Linked DNA regions of Homo sapiens: regions 1, 2 and 4 are each linked to region 3. Evidence: promoter capture Hi-C in human tissues and cell types (Jung and others, 2019). All regions are on one chromosome and are shown on one strand. The core of a region is centred on a gene start or on the middle of the fragment in contact, and the rest is flanking DNA. Distances in the headings are between cores, read along the strand shown.

Region 1 (3,140 bases), core at 371-2,870, 1.1 Mb before region 3:
GGGGCCAACAATTGGAGGAGCAGAGAGCATTGGTGGTGATGGTGATGGTAGTGGTGGCAGAGGTGGTGACTGTGGTGGTCCCTCTGGTGTAGACTTACAGAGGCCAACAGGGAGACCCAGCAGCACGGGCAGCACAACTCACGTGTGAGAGGGACCCTAGACACCTGGAGGAAATTGTGTGTGGTGTTTTAAAATTTACTGTGGCCTTCCTCCCCAGCTCTAGCCCTTAGGAGGTCTGCCTGTTGGGTGGGATCCTGTTGGGGTCCTGGAATAAGGGGAGGTGGGGACCTTGTCACTGCTAATCACTAGGGAAGCTGTCAGGCTGCAGTAAGGAGACAGAAACAGCCCCGGCCTCTGCTCCCCCAATGTATTTGACCAAATTGTTTCGTTTTGTTTTTGCAACCTCTGCCTCCCGGGTTCAAGTGATTGTTATGCCTCAACCTCCGGAGTAGCTGGGATTACAGGTGTGCACCACACACCCAGCTAATTTTTGTATTTTTAGTATTTTAGTAGAGATGGGGTTTCGCCACGTTGGCCAGGCTTGTCTTGAACTCCTGGCCGTAAGTGATCCACCACGCTGGCCTCCCAAAGTGCTGGGATTACAGGTGTGAGCCACTGCACCCGCTCTGTTTGTTTTTTAATAATAGTTCCCATTTCTTAAACGCTTAAGTACCAGGATAGAGCTAAGCACTTTACAGACACTTCCCCTCAATACTCAAAACAGTCATGAACCCTGTCTGGTGGATAATGACATTGAGGCTCAGACAAACCTTGTTAGCTGGGAAGCTGAGTTGGGAATCCAGGTCTTCCGACCCTGCAGGTCATATTCTTTTCCCTTGGGGTGTGCAGAGTATTTTCACTAAAGTTCTTCAGTTTAGCTCCAGACTCACCAAGAGACAAGATAGAGATTGTTTTAAAGAAAAGAAACCTAATCTTGCAAAGGGGGGTGACTTGTACAACCTCACAAGGGGTTATCAGTGGTGAATCAGGCCAGAATCCAGGAGCCCAGATGCACAGGTGACATTGTCTGGACAGGCCTAGGGATAGCAGAGCATAGTTCTTGATTGGCTCCGAGCTCCCTAGGCATAATGACCACCTCCTGTTTTGTAGGGTCCAGTGTCCATCAAAGTCCAGGTGCCCAACATGCAGGATAAGACGGAATGGAAACTGAATGGGCAGGTGCTGGTCTTCACCCTCCCACTCACGGACCAGGTATGGGTACTGCCAGAAACTGGCATCAGGTGCATGGGAACCAAGCATTCAGGGGAAAGCTTCCTCTAGCTGGCCTTACCAAGGAGTTGAATGACCGCTGCTTGATCCCACAGGTCTCTGTCATTAAGGTGAAGATTCATGAAGCCACAGGCATGCCTGCAGGGAAACAGAAGCTACAGTATGAGGTGAGTCAGTTTGTCCACAGACCTGTCCCTTGGGTCCTGACACCTCTGCTTTCACAGAAGCTAAATCTGTCATGGAAGCTAAAAGGGGAGTGGAGTGATATCTGGGTGTGGCCATCTGAATCCATCCTAGAAGTCATGATGCTGGCTGGGAGTGTTGGGGCAGGTGTGCCCAACAATGCAAGGCTCTGGTGGGGTCACAGTAGAGTCTTGTGTGGGATCTGTAAGATTCTTTGCCTCAATGACTGGGCATAGAGATTTAGTGACAAGACTTAGGCATGCTCTGGTGGGTTCCTGATCCAGTGGTTGGGCCATCCCTGCCAGTATGACCTCAGGCAGCCTGACTTGGAGGTGATAGTCTAGCCCCGCCTGATGCCAGGTCACATGGAGGCATTAATGTTCTTCTTCTCTGAACTTGAACAAATCCCTGCTCTGGGCCTCAGTTATCTCTATCCATTGAGGCTGTTGGGCTAAGTGATCCCTAAAGGTCTTGTGATTTCAGAGTCAGAGCTCCATGGAGTTGGTGAGGGGCCAACTTTTTGGGGAGTTGAGCTTTTGAGTCAAATGTTGACAAAGGGGAGGAGCGTAATTGGTGGGAAGAAAGGAAACAGTGGGAGGAATGAGAGGCCTCCAGTCCCCAACACCCTACCTTCTCACAAGCTCCTGTATTTGCTAAGTCCAGAGCGCAAACAGACCAAGTGCACAGTTGTAAGGTTGCAGCGGTATCCCCAAGGCTGGGTTGCCCCATGCTAAGGCACGCTGTCTGTTTTCCAGGGTATCTTCATCAAAGATTCCAACTCACTGGCTTACTACAACATGGCCAATGGCGCAGTCATCCACCTGGCCCTCAAGGAGAGAGGCGGGAGGAAGAAGTAGACAAGAGGAACCTGCTGTCAAGTCCCTGCCATTTTGCCTCTCCTGTCTCCCACCCCCTGCCCCAGACCCAGGAGCCCCCCTGAGGCTTTGCCTTGCCTGCATATTTGTTTCGCTCTTACTCAGTTTGGGAATTCAAATTGTCCTGCAGAGGTTCATTCCCCTGACCCTTTCCCCACATTGGTAAGAGTAGCTGGGTTTTCTAAGCCACTCTCTGGAATCTCTTTGTGTTAGGGTCTCGATTTGAGGACATTCATTTCTTCAGCAGCCCATTAGCAACTGAGAGCCCAGGGATGTCCTACAGGATAGTTTCATAGTGACAGGTGGCACTTGGCTAATAGAATATGGCTGATATTGTCATTAATCATTTTGTACCTTGACATGGGTTGTCTAATAAAACTCGGACCCTTCTTGTGAAATCAGTTAAATAAGACTTGTCTCGGTCACCTGTGCCCTGTCCAGACTCGAGGCAGTGGTAACACTGCACAGTGCTATGTGGCTTCTCTTTGAGGATTTTTGGGTTTTGTAACTAAATTCTTGCTGCCCTCATACTTTTTATGTATTAGAATCATATTCGTATTGCCCTTTTAAAACATTGGGATCCTCCAAAGGCCTGCCCCATGTATTTAACAGTAATACAGGAAGCATGGCAGGCACCATGCAAACCAAGGATGGATGGTGCAGTCCCTGTGTCAGTGGGCGGTGGTTTCCTGCTGGCCTGGAATCACTCATCACCTGATTGATTGGCTCTGTGGTCCTGGGCAGGTGCCTCATAGGTGTGTGGATATGATGACGTTTCTTTAAAATGTATGTATTTAACAAATACTTAATTGTATTAAGGTCATGTACCAAGGATTTGATAAAGTTTAAATA
Region 2 (2,900 bases), core at 47-2,546, 1.4 Mb after region 3:
TTTGCATTTATTTGAAGACTGTTAAGACTGATTTTCCCATTTGTTTGTTAACAAATAACATTTTCTATTTGTAATGGGCCTGTGGATGACTTTTGCCCCTTTATATGTTGGGATTGTTTCTGATTATCATATGCTTGCACAAGCTTCTCATATATTAATCATGTATTGAACCTTTCTCTTCCTCTGAATATACTTAAGGCAGCAAGTGACATTCATCTCCCATACCTACAAAATTTTATACTTGGATATGCTTTAATTTCTCATTTTCTGCATGGGTCCTTTACATTGTCATTTTTCTTCAGGTCTGTTCTATAAAATGTATTCAGACTTTTATTCAGAGATATCTCCTTATTCTGGGGCTTTTTGCATTAAGAAACAGTATAATGTCATCTAACTCTTAAGAACTACATTGTATTAATGTGCAGATTGAATAGCTGTTAACTCTTAGGTTTTACATTGGGGTAGTAGATCAGAAGTTCTTAAGAAATAATTGCTTCTATTTAAAAAAAAAAAAACCACACACACACACACAAAACCTTTTATACAGTTAATTTTTTTTTTCCTTGTGAGACAAGGTCTTGCTCTTTTGCCCAGGCTAGAGTGCAGTGGTGTGATCTCAGCTTGCTGCAACCTCTATCTCCCAGGTTCAAGTGATCCTCCCACCTGAGCCTCCTGAATAGTTGGGGCTACAGGCATGTGCCACCATGCCTGGCTAGTTTTATATTTTTTGTAGAGACAGGGTTTCACCATGTTGTCCAGGCTAGTCTCAAACTCCTGGGCTCAAGTGATCCTCCTGCCTCAGCCTCTCAAAATGCTAGGATTACAGGCATGAGCCACCATACCCAGCTAAATATTCTTAATCATTTTTATTTAAAATGTAAAAAATTATGTGTTCATTTCTACTGGATTACTTTAGGATTGAAATAAACTAGTTCATCAGACTTAGAACCTGGTCACCTTTGATTGCCATACTCTTTCAAGCAGTTGGATAGATACCAAGAAAGAATTGATGGTGCTGTTAAATATATCCAGTATCTCTCTTCTCCCAGCAAAGTGCCTGCATTCGTGAGGATGATTGCTCCCGAGGGCTCCTTGGTGTTTCATGAGAAAGCCTGGAATGCGTACCCCTACTGTAGAACAAGTAAGCTTGGCCCCCAGCAGCCATTGCACCCCTCCACCCTGAGAATGAGAGGGATTCCCAGTACCAGTGTCTTTGAGAAGGTTTACACTGAGCAAGGTCTTCCTTGGGTTCTTGGATAGTCACTGCTAGAATGATGGCAGAGGAAGGGCTGCATTGGGTTCCTCCCCCTAGAACTTTGTGACAGGCATAAGTTCATTCCCACATGGCAGCCACTTTGGGGTCCTAGCTGACTATGCTGGCTCCAGGGGTAAGCCAAAAGAAAGGTCGTTTACACTCAGAAGGGTGTTTTGGTGTGTTTCAACAGTATTTTACTTAAATTGCTACATAATAGAGGAGGAATAGGACAGACTTCTGAAACAGCATCCTATCATTTGCTAAATTGACCTTATAAATAATGTTTTGCTTTTGTGACATTATTATTCTTTTTAGCATTATTTTTAAAATTAGATTATTGTTCATATTTTATTTGTACTCCATAATCTAATGTACTGTATAGTGTCACTTGTGTGGAAACTGTTTTGCAGACATAAATTACTAAATAAATGTTCTGTTTTCAGATAGTTTAGTCTTTGTGACATTAAGTATTGGGACAGATTGTTTTGACTCCAATTAATATTCTGAAATTTTTCTCCTTTCATTACCTACCTCTCCATTATGCCTCAGTTGTAACGGTGAGTAAAACTATTTTTGTGTCTCATACTTTCTTTATCTTTAAACTTTGTTTTACACAGTAATTATTTTCAACCATTCTTTGCTAACTGCACCTCGCTGCATGGTTCCTTCCTGTGTCCCACCAACCAGCCGCCACACTCTACCACATGTTCCCAGTGTTCATGGGCCCTTTCCACCCTTGTCTCAAAATCTCCCTATTGATTTTATTTTGCTTTTGTTACTCCCTTCAAACGCCATATTTGTTTATCAGACCTCACAGCTTCTTTATTAGCCCGATATGCCACGTGGCAAGTAGAATTGTTTAAATTATTTAAAAGCATGTAGCATTTGGTTTGCCTGACAAGTCTATAAAAATCGGTAGCCAATGATTCTTTGTCACTTGAGTATCAGTCTCCTTGTAGAGTCAAAGCATGGATGCCTATACTGGGAAAAGCTCCCTCAGACGTGGGCACCAAGGAACAGGTAGAAGATCACTGTCATTTTCCTGTTGTGTTTTCTGCAGAATGAATATATGAAAGATGATTTCTTCATTAAAATCGAAACATGGCACAAACCAGACTTGGGAACATTAGAAAATGTAAGTTTCAACTCTGCACTTTTAGTACAAAAGTCCCTGGAAACGAGAATTCTATATGTAGTTCACTTTGTCATCATCAAAGTAATGTCACCTGTGTATCTGACCGCACCAAGCTGTGTCAAATTGAGATGAGGCGGGCAAGCAGCCAGAAACCAAATAGGCTTTCCCTATCAGTCCGCTTGCCTTGACACTTTGGTAAAGTTGCTGTTTTGATCAGCAACTCTCTTTATCCGAGACAAGGAGAGCATGAATAAACAAAATTCACAGATAATCCCCAGCCCAATTTTAGCCATTAGTTTTGCTAATTAGATTGCTTTTATATCTGAGTGTTTGTCAGAGCTGCTCTGCATAGCAGGATTGATTGCTTTAATTTTTACCTCTTGTCTGCTTTGCAAGGGTATGGGCTCATGTTAGAGAAATGGCCAAAAGGCAGGAGGGATAAAGTACTTGAATAACTTACAAAAATGTTGAAAAGCTGTTGACTTATATAAGTTGGTTCACATTTATCTC
Region 3 (2,848 bases), core at 227-2,726:
CACAGATTGCGAACTGCAGGTGATGGCTAGGCGACACTCTTAAACGCTCCTTCCATCAAGGACCACTCTACTCCCATTTTGGAGTTCCCAACCGGGGCTTGCTTGCAAGTGCCTTTAAGATTGCTTCTACTGGCCTTTTTTCCCCTCTCCTCTGTCGACCTACGAAATCAACAGGCCTGCCGGCCTAACGCAGGCGAATAAACGTGCGAGGCCACTGCTGAAACATAATTCAAATGAAGGCTCGGCCTTTTGTTCCTCCTAGGTCAGAGAGACCAGAAATATCTTTCTGGTAGCGTTTCTCGTCTCTCGACCCAGGCTGGCCTTATTATACAACGGATGTCCCTCGGCGTTTGCAGAAAAAGGGCCCTGGGAAGCCACTTAATTGGTTTTGGGGGAGGGGAGGACGTGGATTAATAACGATAAAAATGGAGAAGCCCAAGAAAGCGGCAAACTGGGGGCCCTGGAGGAGGGAAGCACATTCTGTCTAAAGCCCAGGCGAGCAGAAGTTCGGCTTGGGGCTGGAAGCCACAGAGGGGGCAGCTCGGCAGCGCCAGACGCCCCAGCCGACTGGGTCTTAAGGATGACGGGGCTCCCGCTCATAGGCCGGCACCCCTCGGCCCACAAATCCACGGTATCTTTATTTGCTTTTTCCCCTGGTTTCTCAGGAAACCCTGAAAACGGGGAGGGAGGCCTCACAGGGACAGCAGCCTGCGGGCCCCCCGGCGGTTTCATAGTGACCGGCTTGAGGCCTGGCCAAATCCTCCCCTTCACGCAGGGCCTCGAAGGCCGCAGGCCCCGCCCACGTGGCGGGAGGCCCGGAGCTCAGGGCGCGAGGACCGCCACACAATGGAGGCCAAGGCGGGCCCCGCGCGCCCCCGCCGCAGCAAGCCCCCCGCGCGCCACGGGCGCCGGAAGATTCCAGAACCGGCCCGCCCGGTTGGGGGAGGGGAGAGGAATGCGGATCCCCGAGCTCGTCGGGCCGCGGCGGGTGCCTCAACCCCCTCTCGGCAACTCCACTCAGTCTTCCCAGCCAAGCCCAGAGACGAACGACCCCCAGTTTGGGCGTTCCGGCTACCGCCGGCGCGACCGCAGTTCCACCATACTCACCCGTGGACGCCATTTTCTCTCCTTCCTCCTCGTTCTCTCAACGTCCGTCTCCCTCTCGCTTTCCCTCTAGGCGCCGCACTGCGCAGGCGCAAATCTCGCAACCCCGGGCGCGACCATCGGGCCAGGCCACGGGGGTGGGGTCAGGAGGGATGAACCACCGCTTACTCGTTCTTCGCGTCCGCAACTCTTGTCCCAGTCCTCTCTAAAGAGCGCCCGACGTGACACTCGGGCCAAAATAGCATCTAAGGGGCCAGAGCGGGGGTGAGCGGGTCTCAGCGTGAAACCGGAGAGGCTCTCAGCACGAGACTAGGCTGTTTGGAATGGTTCCGTCCGCTGGCTCTAGGGACGGTCGCTGAAGAGTCGGCCCTGCAGGGAGACGGAGATCGGCGGGAGGGCTGGGGGAAGGGACCCGGACTAGAACAACTGCTGACTAATCCGCGGGCCGCGGGGAATGGGTGGCGCGCCAGCCGGTCGGCAGGGGTCACGCGGCCGGGTGTGCGCGGAATGGATTCAGGGTTCTCGGGTCGCGCCCGGGAGCTAGAGTCCTGACTCCCAGCCGGGGTCCCCGACCGGCCTTTCGGGGTTGCCGGGCGCGCTCTGCAGTGAGTACCCGGGACGCGTGGCCCGGGCCAGCGGGGAAGGGTCCCCAAGGCCGGTCGGCTGGGTGGGAGGCCTCGAACGCCGTGCCTGGCCCCGAGACCCTATCCCCGGTAACGGTCGAGGTGGAGCAGGCCCTTTAATCATCCCTCATCCGATATCCTTGTTTCTACAGAAGGGGAAACTGAGGCCCAAGGAAATTGAGTATCTCTGCAAAGTCACCAGCTGAGTTCGAACCAGACAGATCCTGGGACCCCCTACTCTATCCGCCACCGGAAGAATCTCCGTCCTTGTCTTTCCATTCTGCCCTCCCGGCTTCCCAGTAAGGTAGGCAGGGCCTGGTGGTGCACTGCCCCGTTTCATAGATTGAAGAAAGTGAGGTCCAGGGGGCTCAAGTCCCAGTTCCGAGTGTCCACGGGTAAGCCCTTCACCCTTGCTAAGGTGCCCAGAGCTGGGGAATGGTTGTGAGGTGTCGATGCAGGAGGAGGTTTACGGTGGGTGCCTTGGCCCCAAACCCTGCCTCCAGGCAAGGCTGACCCTGCCCACCTTCCTGGACCTCTAGCCCCAGCCCCCTAGGTGGATGCCCGGGTCCGCGAAGGGCAGGGTTCACCTTCAAATCCCTCGGCAGGACCAGGAGCCAAGCTAGTGTCCTTTTTTCAGTGAACATATATAAAGCACTGGCTGTGTGCTGTGAATACCCTGGGGAATGTGGGGTTGGATCAGAGGAGCCATGAGCTCAGACCACCTGCCTAGGGAGACAGACTGGCCAAGCTGTGCTCCTAAGGATAAGATCCATGATGTTAGGGGGCCAGAGGAGGGGAAGGGATATTTGAGCTGGGCTTCCAAGGGTGAAATAGGAGTTTGCCTGCTGGCAAAATGGAGGGAAGGACAATGCAGGCAGAGGAGCTTTCCACATTTTTCCTGCAGGAAACTGGTAGATGTGGAGAAGGCGCTTGGCAGGGGAGCAAATTAGGCAGCCTTCTTGTCTCTCTGGGATCCTGCTTCCTGCCCTGAATCAGCTCAGTGGGAGTCCTGGGACCGAGAGGCCTGACCAGGGGTGAAGACCTACAGGCCCTGGAGGACAGGCTGGATGCAAGAGAACAGCACGGGGGAGAAGGCCTTGCTTTGGTGGGCAGGGAAAGGC
Region 4 (2,955 bases), core at 157-2,656, 1.4 Mb after region 3:
GGCATGAGCCACTGCGCCCAGCCAGTAGTTGTTTTTAAATAAAGTGCACACCCTTACTTTATTCATGGAAGTAAGGTAATGTCAAGGTAATAATTTAAATTGCTATAGAAATATAATGCATTTTAAAGACATCTACTAAACTAAATGACAGATCCTTAAAGAAGTCTTAATGTGTTATTGGCAAGTTACTACAGCTAATTTGACAAGAGAAGAGCATAAAAACTTAAACATGCCCAGAGCAGATTTTCCACTCCCAGGGTCTTACTTGGTAACCAGTCTGTCTGTGCTGAAGCCAGTTACAGGTCATCGATAAGTGATGTCTAGGTACTAGTTGCATGCAGATAAGAGGATTACTGTTACAGCCCCACAGAGAACTCATTGAGTGGTTCTCCCTGGGTGTTAGACTGTTTTGTGGACTGTCTTGTGCATCAACTAAAAGGAAAAATGAATTTGACTTTGGTTTATAAGAAATGATTCATAACTATATTATTTTCACATTTGTTCTCTGGGTAGAGTTTAGTTCAGAATTCTCCCAGTTTTAATACTTAGCATGTTAGGCCAATCTTGCATTATTACAAAGAACCTGAGAATGGGTATTATATATAAAGAGGCTTGGGCCAGGTGCAGTGGCTCACGCCTGTAATCCCAGTACTTTGGGAGGCTGAGGTGGGTGGATCACTTGAGGTCAGGAGTTCAATACCAGCCTGGGCAACATGTTGAAACCCCATCTCTACTAAAAATCCAAAAATTAGCTGGGCACGATGGTGCTTGCGTGTAATCCCAGCTACTCAGGAGGCTGAGGCAGGAGAATCACTTGAACCCGGGAGGTAGAGGTTGCAGTGAGCTAAGATTGCACCATTGCACTCCAACCTGGGCGACAGAGTGAGACTCCGTCCCAAAAAAAAAAAAAAAAAAAAAAAAAAAAAACCAGGCTTAATTGGCTCACGGTTCTGCACACTGTATAGGAAGCATAGTGCTGGTATCTGCTTTTGGGGAGGCTTCAGAAAGCTTACAGTCATGGTAGGCAAAGGAGAAGCAGGCGTCTCACATGGTGGAAGTGGGGCAGGGGAAGTGTGCCATGCACTTTTATACAGCCAGATCTCGTGTGAACTCAGAGTGAGAGCTCACTTATCACCAAGGGGATGGCCCAAGCTATTCATGAAGGATCTGCAGTCATGATGCAAACACCTGTTAGAGGCTTTACCTCTAACATTAGGGATTGCATTTCAACATTGGGGATTACATTTCAGCATGAGATTTGAGCAGGGACAAATTCCCAATCTATATTACCCAGAAAGTGATATATACCACTTATAAATTAACAAATTCAGCCTGCTTGATGTAAATTTGCTTTAATGGATTTAGTGTCCCCAGCCTTTTCCAGATTTCTAGCTTCAGACTTTAGAACTCAATCTTAGTTGGAGGAGAAGCCCTTTGAGATTTCACACTGGTCTTCTAAACAAGGACACCATGCCAGAGAGCAGCCCAGATGGTGGCTACCTCCACTGGTGCTGTAACTTCTAAAAAAGTACATCTTGTTCCAGTGAGTAGTAGCTCTAGCTGACAATACTTTTACAGGGAGTAAAGGGGCATGAGGTTGAGACCCAGAGGTGAATTAAATATTGTATTTTCTTGAAATTATTAGCTTTTCAAGTATAAACATTAAAAGACAATGCTACATTATGTGGTGGGCTTTATGTTTGGGCTCAGATCCTTCCTATAGGAACTCCTGATTTTATAACAGGCAGCAAAAGTAGTTTGATACTATGACTTGTACTGATTTCTAACTTTTTAGGAACTTGGAATATATACCATGTCTGGCCTGATTTGTAACTGATATTGCTTTGTCTTTTATTATTGACTAATGATTGAAATTCTAGAATAGGTTTAGTTCTTAGAAATAATGTGAATTTTGTATTTCTGCAGATTGCAGAACTGCAGTTTTTTTCCATTTTCCCCCCTGTGTTAAACAGTAACTTATTAGGCTGATAGGGTGCTGGTTGTTTCTGCCCATTTGCCTGTTGATTGTTCATTTTATCCAGATGATGGTGTATCCAGCTACTCTTATAAATTCAGCTACTGCCTGACTGAATTTCTGTGAATTACTGTGATCTCAGAAATAACTAGTGCAGTCAAGAATAACTGATAATAATTAAGCCATCCACTTGCTGCTGTGGAGGGAAATAAAGCGTAAGAAGATAGCTGATAATATGGCATACAGGAAAATAGGAACCTTTGGACTTGATCTTACCAGTGTCTTCTGTAAACATGTTCAGCAGGCCCTCTTTGCCAATTACTGTCCTGGTGGAGGCACTGAGGGTAGCACTGGGGAACGATAATAGTTGGAAATTTTTATACTTCTGAAATGCAAGGAAGAAATAGGGAACAAACATGATAATTATGGCTGAAAGGAAGAAGAAATCTTATTGTGGACCCACTTAACCAGGGTAGTGTTGAAGAATGTTCTTATAGAAGAGCTGCCTGGTAGTTCCACAGTCTCTCTCTCAAAAGGCCTCTGTGAACCATCCCACACATACCCTTCAGCAGAAACCTGCCTTACCAGTACAGATTCCAAAGTCTATTCAAAGCTAAATGCAAATCCTATGATTTCTTTGAAACTTTTCCTTACTTGTCTGATGGTGGTATTTTCCCTCTGAATTATTGCAGTATTTACTTCCTGTCTGCACCAGACTGACTAGGGGTAAAGAAACTTTTCCTTGGTACCAGGTACTATACAAGGTTACATTTAATCTTTACAACCTTCCTGTGGTGTAAGTTCAGCTGCTTTATTTTATATAGTTGAGAAACTTGGGCAGAGAAACACATGTAATAGTTGTAGGAGAAACAGCAGAATGTCTGCCATTTCTGGAACACCTGATTCGGTGGTAGTTACAGCAGTGTGTAAGGTATGGAGATGTAGCAGATTTTAACTCTTAATCCAGTGACTCCTAGATC

What was found. Contacts are between HindIII fragments. The study calls those that stand out against the background at their distance.
Region 1: a fragment that was not itself captured here is called in contact with the fragment with the promoter of RHBDD3 in region 3 in 1 of the 25 tissues and cell types used here (spleen).
Region 2: a fragment that was not itself captured here is called in contact with the fragment with the promoter of RHBDD3 in region 3 in 1 of the 25 tissues and cell types used here (spleen).
Region 4: a fragment that was not itself captured here is called in contact with the fragment with the promoter of RHBDD3 in region 3 in 1 of the 25 tissues and cell types used here (dorsolateral prefrontal cortex).

What each region holds. Positions count from the first base shown.
Region 1 is chr22:30,333,724-30,336,863 of GRCh38, reverse strand. It overlaps SF3A1 (splicing factor 3a subunit 1), which reads left to right. Exons shown (of 16, transcript NM_005877.6): 14 at 1,111-1,212; 15 at 1,326-1,397; 16 at 2,169-3,140. The coding sequence ends at 2,270. Among named protein-coding and RNA genes, the nearest start is that of TBC1D10A, 8.4 kb to the right of the region's middle. The HindIII fragment of the contact is 5,203 bases long and covers 1-3,140 here.
Region 2 is chr22:27,896,042-27,898,941 of GRCh38, reverse strand. PITPNB (phosphatidylinositol transfer protein beta) reads left to right here. Exons shown (of 12, transcript NM_012399.5): 4 at 1,050-1,141; 5 at 1,805-1,812; 6 at 2,316-2,390. Among named protein-coding and RNA genes, the nearest start is that of PITPNB, 22 kb to the left of the region's middle. The HindIII fragment of the contact is 4,356 bases long and covers 1-2,900 here.
Region 3 is chr22:29,266,609-29,269,456 of GRCh38, reverse strand. RHBDD3 (rhomboid domain containing 3) reads left to right here and starts at 1,476. Exons shown (of 7, transcript NM_012265.3): 1 at 1,476-1,709; 2 at 1,880-2,031. EWSR1 (EWS RNA binding protein 1) reads right to left here and starts at 1,189. Exons shown (of 17, transcript NM_005243.4): 1 at 1,108-1,189. The coding sequence starts at 1,120. RefSeq lists a silencer at 844-933 and enhancers at 1,104-1,163, 1,274-1,333, 726-1,597. The HindIII fragment of the contact is 23,296 bases long and covers 1-2,848 here.
Region 4 is chr22:27,870,054-27,873,008 of GRCh38, reverse strand. All of the region lies in intron 8 of PITPNB (phosphatidylinositol transfer protein beta), which reads left to right. Among named protein-coding and RNA genes, the nearest start is that of PITPNB, 48 kb to the left of the region's middle. The HindIII fragment of the contact is 6,796 bases long and covers 1-2,955 here.